Regions from separate parts of the Homo sapiens genome. Here region 1 is linked to region 2. Evidence: promoter capture Hi-C in 16 types of primary human blood cells and fetal thymus (Javierre and others, 2016). All regions are on one chromosome and are shown on one strand. The core of a region is centred on a gene start or on the middle of the fragment in contact, and the rest is flanking DNA. Distances in the headings are between cores, read along the strand shown. Region 1 holds the start of SPTSSA (serine palmitoyltransferase small subunit A). Region 2 holds the start of ARHGAP5-AS1 (ARHGAP5 antisense RNA 1 (head to head)).

Region 1 (2,846 bases), core at 54-2,553, 2.4 Mb after region 2:
TCAAATTCCTCAAAAGTGCTTAAACAAAAGACTCAGCTTTGAGTACAACCTTAAGCTATCTCAAAACAAATAAACACACTTGATAAGGCTTAGAATGAAATTACCTCAGTCACTCACTGGAATGCAACAATGCATTCGCAAAGTTATTCTGAAGTAAGCTACTCCAACTAAACCACACTGAAAAGGAGAGAACGTGGATAAACTAAACATGTTTTGTGAAATACCTGTTTTGTATTGGCCTGAGTTTTTTAAAAGTTACATCTCATTCATTATCAGTATTTAATCTGCAAGAATATCATCAAAGGATGTCAATATGGACAAGCAGAGACAAGAAACATCAGACTTTCAGGGAGCCTATCTTCACAACCCTGAGTTATTAACTGAAGTTCTCAAAGTTAGATGAGTTAAGATACAGACAACGTGCTTTGCACAAATGCTTTGCTTATAGTAACCACTCAATAGTCATTAACAAGAATTTATTAACTATCCACCAAAACACAGTTTCAAACCCTACCGACAACTAACCACAAATTGCACCACTTTTCGGGCCGACTTCTACGGACGGTGCACAGAAGCAATAAATACACTTTTAAAACTCCCCAACTTGAAGACCAAAAAGATACAATAACTTAAACTGCTTTCAAAAACTACTGGAGTGTCATGCCTACAAATTCAGAACCTGGCTTAAAAGCTAGTTAACTGACTAGAATTCTTGGTAGACCCAAAGCCAACTAAATCAGGAACACTTAAAGGTCAAAGGCGTCCAAGCCGGGAGCGATGTGCTCCACTGTTACATGATCCCCGCCTCCTACAGGAACAGGGGACTGAACCAAAGGCAGTTGCGGCCGAAGTGCAGGCGACACACAGGGTTACACATCACCTTCGGAGATTTCCTCCAGGAATCAAGACGCTTCCCCCTTGGGTCCAGCGACTCACAGGTGACCCCGGATCTCAAGAGTTCTCGTCTCCCCCACCCCCCACTTAACCCCGCGAGCGCCGCCCTCGGCCCCCAGACCTCCCCCTGCACCCCCGGCTTCCGCGCACAGGACCGGCGGGGCCGCCGCTCCAGCCTCCACCCCAGGCCCGGGGCCTGGGGAAATGCGGCCCCGCGGCCCGCGCCCCCAGCCCGGCCCCCGCGCGCGCGGCCGGGACAGGATACTGAACACCGTCCGCTCCCAGGGCTCCAGCATGTAGAGCGCCGTGACCAGCAGGTACTGGTAGTAGAACCAGGACATCTGCTTCCAGGCCCGCGCCAGCGCCATCCCCGCCATGCGCCTCCCGCGATGCAGCTCACACGTCAGTCTGTCCGGCCGGCCGCCCGCTCACGTCCTAAAGCCCCCGGCCGCCAGGCCCGCCCGCCCGCCACCCAGCGCCCATTGGCCCGCCCGGCCCCGCCGTCACCCGCGGCACGCCCAGACCCGCGCGCGCCCCGGCCGCCGGCCCCCAGCCCCGCCCGACCCGCGCTCATTGGCCAGGCCGCTACCTCGCGTCGCGTCGTCCCCTCCCGTTTCCCCGCCCGGGCATCGCCCACGCTAGCCGGAGAACGGTCCCCGCGAGAGCGCCCAGCCGCGCCCCACCCCGCCCGGGCCGGCCGGTGGTGGGCGGGGCGTCAGTGCCGGCCGGGGTCCCGGGGCCCCCGCAGCCCAGCGGGCGCTCGGTCCGTCCAGACTGGCCCAGAGCGCTTGCGGAAGAAATATTTCTGGAACACTTGTTATGCCTCAGGCATCCTTCTGAGAAGGAGGATTGCCAGGGAGAACCGGAATGCCTTCGGTTCCTTACCTTGTGCAGCTGGCGGCCTAGCTGGGAGACAAGCATTAATCAAGTCGTGATCCGTGTAAGAGGAGATAAGGGGCTGAGAGAGGGTGAGGAGGCGAACGCCACCTAATAAGGAGGTCTGGAAAGGCGTCCTTGTAGAAGGGATGCACATTCGGCCTCCTTCCTCCCTTCCCCCACCCATGCACACACACACACACACACACACACACACACACACACACACACACACCCCTAGACGGACATAACCCATGCACTCCCTAACCCAGAGACCACTTACCAAAAACATCTATCTGCCCACCTCTTAGTGGCTGTAGGTAACCACCAAGTGGGTCAAGGCCAGAAGCGCGCTGATCTAGTGGGTTCTGCAGAAGACAGGCAGCTTGAGATTGGTGTGAGGGCTGGTGATACTTCCCTAGAGATGCACTCCTGGATGCCCAGATTTTCCCACTGCCAGATGGGCCAGCAACATTGCACTGGCCACAAGGAGCTCCATGCACTGGTGTAGCATGTGAACTGCCACAATTAAATGGCCTGCTGTTTAAATGTTAAAAGTCTTCCAGGTTAAACATACTACTGCTTAAACTTTAAAAGTTTCATGGTTAATAACTATTCATTAAAAGTACCAAGTGCCGGCCAAGCGCCGTAGCTCATGCCTGTAATCCAAGCACTTTGGGAGGCTGAGGCTGGCGGATCACTTGAGTCCAGAAGGTCGAGACCAGCCTGAGCAACATGGTGAAACCCCGTCTCTACCAAAAAAAATAAGTAAATACATAACAAAAAGTTAGCCAGGGGTGGTGGCGTGCACCTGTAGTCCCAGCTACTCAGGAGGTTGAGGCGGGAGGATTGCTCGAGCACGGGAGGTCGAGGTTGCAGTGAGCCAGGATGGTGCCACTGCACTCCATCTTAGGTGGCAGAGCAAAAGAAAGGAAAGAAAGGAGACAGAGAAAGAGAGGAGAAAACAGAAGAGAAGAGAAGAAAAGAAAGAAAACAGTAAGTAATATCAAGTGCCAGACATTGGGATAGCAAGCCAGATAGACTGAGACCTGCCTTCATAAAGTACCCAGTCTGCT
Region 2 (3,008 bases), core at 499-2,998:
TTTATATGTTTACTTCGGGTATTCTTAAGGGCTTTCAGTACAAAGATAAAAACATGCGTTGGAATGCATCAACATTCCAACTTACATAAGTGGTGTAGATACCTATGGCATTAGTACCACATTTTGATGGTTGGACCACCCACCAAATTCCCTTCTCTCCTTTTTTACTTCTTTTTCTTTCTGTTTGCTTTCCTTGCAAGTTTCCTTCCGCATCCTTCTTTCCCACCTACAATTTGTAACTGAAAGAAAGAAGTAGCTACAGACCTTACCTAACCTACTCTTAACCTACTTGGTAGGTAGGGTTCAGATGCAAGGGAGTGGCTCGAATAAAGCATTTTAGTTATGCCTTTTAGAAATTAGGGAGCAAGAGATATATAGAAAAATTAGAAATGTCTCTTCTACCTTTATTAAGTCTACCTTTGAGAAATATGAAGGGCAGGAAGACGGAAAAACGAACAGAACTTCTGCTGGAATATTGTGACAAATTTACTGACAAATATTTTCTAATAGATTTTTACCAACAGGCAGTTTTTGTTTTCTTTACTGACAGACCGTAAATGTACTTCTGGTTGGCAGCAGCTGCATCATTATAACACAAAAGCAACCTTGGCTAACTTCAGTACCTTATGTAACATAAGAAATAAAGAATAACTTGAATTTAAAATACTTTTTATATGTTTACTAACATTAAACTATTTTCAATGCAGGAAATAAATATTTCCCCAAAGAGGAATCCCCCCTCAATTACTTTCTTTCAGACTTAACAAATTGGAGTAGATGTGGTTTTGCTCATTCTTTTATCTGCTGGCAACTATTTTAAGTCTCCTGTGCAAGGCAGATTCCGATGACCTCGGGAAAGTCACAGGACCTCAGTTTCTTCAATGGTAAAAGCAAAGGCAGTGGTTTCTACCGTCCTTTCTCACTGCACCATTCAGCGTCAGTGCCCTCATGAGAAACACACCCAAAGCCCAGTGTGCTCTACCCCAAAACTTGTGAAATTTCTAGAGTCTCAAAAAAGTGAATATGTTTAAGGCAGTATAATAAAAGCCAGGTGGACGACAGTTCCTAAAGTTAGGCTGGTAGTGGCGTGAACAGGGGTCTTTTGGGCCACCCTGAGACCCGCCCCACGGGGCTTCTCGATCCACGTCTTGGCTTCTCGCTCCACTTTCACAGAACGTACTGAATCAGGGGCCTGCATCCCCGTGCCGTGCCGAGCCGACGGAGAAATGGACTCCTCTTCTCGCTCCTGTGGAGTTTCGTCTTCTGGGTGAGTGTGGCACCGGGTCCTGGGCGGGTGATGTCTGTAGTTGGCGAGCGATCCTCAGCCAGAAAACTGGCTGCGCACACAGGCGCAGACACGCGAACATGTTCCTGCGAACGAGCTTGGGCGCATGTTTTCCTCCCTTGCTTTCTTTAATGCTCAGAGACCATAAGGGGATTTATCGAGAAGCATTCGGTGCCCATGCCCGGTTTGGAACCGCGAGCACAATATCTGGTTCCTTTGCAGTACGGTGGTTTGCTCTTGAGTTACGACCAGAAACCGGAACAGAAGGAAAGGGAGAAGCAGGGGAGGTTCGGGGACGACGGCGCTCCGGGCAGTAAGGCAGTAGCTTCCAAAGCGTGGAGGATGGGACTGAGGAGGAGCAGAATACGGAGAAAGAGGGAAGCTGAGGAAAAATACTCACGCCAATGGGTAAAAGGGAAAAGGTGAGAAGGAATGGAGTAGGGGAGGGAACCAATGGTGGGAGAGGCGGAGGAAGAAGGGGGAGGGGTAGAAGCCAATGGGGGAGTGGAGGGGAGGGAGAAGCAGAGGGGAGGAGGGAGCGGGGACGCGAGCGAGGACGCGGCCCCGCGCGCTCGTCCCCCTCCCTCCGACTGGATAGCTCGCGCCTTCCCAGGCTCCCGGGAGACGAGGGCAGGGGCGGGGCCGTGCCGGGTGCGCGGCGCGGGAGGCGTCGCGAGGTGAAGGGGCGGGGACGGGGGATTGTGGGGAGGGCAGCGCGGGTTCGCGCGCGCGCGCGCGTCCCGTCCAGGCTGCGCCGCCGCGCCGCCGCTCCGCCCCCGGTCGGGTGTGTGGCTGCGCGCGCCGGGAGAGATGCTGAGGTAAAGTTCGGGAGAGAGGGAGAGAAATCCGTCAGCGCGAGGGAGCCCGAGTGGCCGCCATTACTGAGCCCGGCGCGGCGGCGGGCGCTGGGGAAGGGGGGAGGGACGGGCCGCCGCTGGTGGCGGGGAGGGAGGGAGGGAGGGTGGGTGAGCTGGCTGCGGGAGCCGTGGGGCTCAGGGTTTCGGGGCGTGTGTGTCGGGGAGGGCGGGGGGAGGTGGCTGAAGGGACGCGCCGCTCGGTGAGCGCGCCGAGGAAGAGAGGCGAGCGGAGAGTGGAGGAGGAGGCGGCGGCGGCGGGAGCGGTCCCCAGGAATGTCGCTGCCGCCGCCACCGCCGGGGCCGCTGCCGTTGAGGAGGAGACGGAGGAGACCGACGTTGTTAGGTAGGACCTTGCGGACCCCGCTCCTCCAAGCCTGCCTGCCCCCTCCCGGACGGGGACCCTCCTGCGGCTAGCTGCCCCGCTCGGTCGCCGCTGCCGGTTGTAACCAGTTGAAGGGGCTGGGGCCCCGCGGCCGCCGAGGGGAGCCTGGCGCTGCGCTCGGTTTTCGCAGGCCGGGCGGGCAGCAGCTGCAGCGTTAGGGATACGTTCGGCGTGAAGGGCAGAGAGGCCGGGGGAGGGGGTGCTTTCTCCACAGGTGACGGGGCCAGGGTCGGCGGAGGCCTGATGCTGGCCGGGGATCGCCGGCCCCGCCAGGCGTCCGCTCTCGCCCGCCGCCTCACTTGCTCGAGTCTCGGGTGGTCCGTCGAGAGGGGAGGTGGCGGTGTCCGTTGGCCGGGTTGCTGCTGTTAACGAGTTCCACCTGGAAAGGGTACACGGGGCGGGTGCAGATTCGCGGAAACACAGTCTCGGTTGCAAACTTAAACGCCTTGTAGGGGGGATCGGCCCTTTCACTTTCCCTCATCTC

Evidence for each region. Contacts are between HindIII fragments. The CHiCAGO score rates a contact against its expected background, and 5 or more counts as called.
Region 1: the fragment with the promoter of SPTSSA here is called in contact with the fragment with the promoter of ARHGAP5-AS1 in region 2 in 1 of 17 cell types (erythroblasts); the score reaches 5.6 in erythroblasts.

The regions. Positions count from the first base shown.
Region 1 is chr14:34,460,937-34,463,782 of GRCh38, forward strand. SPTSSA (serine palmitoyltransferase small subunit A) reads right to left here and starts at 1,304. Exons shown (of 2, transcript NM_138288.4): 1 at 1,160-1,304. The coding sequence starts at 1,271. RefSeq lists enhancers at 517-626, 1,167-2,117 and silencers at 1,027-1,196, 1,317-1,826. The HindIII fragment of the contact is 5,560 bases long and covers 1-2,846 here.
Region 2 is chr14:32,074,951-32,077,958 of GRCh38, forward strand. It overlaps ARHGAP5-AS1 (ARHGAP5 antisense RNA 1 (head to head)), which reads right to left and starts at 1,749. Exons shown (of 1, transcript NR_027263.1): 1 at 469-1,749. ARHGAP5 (Rho GTPase activating protein 5) reads left to right here and starts at 2,354. Exons shown (of 7, transcript NM_001030055.2): 1 at 2,354-2,485. RefSeq lists silencers at 1,775-2,034, 2,395-2,614, 2,413-2,707. The HindIII fragment of the contact is 3,747 bases long and covers 1-3,008 here.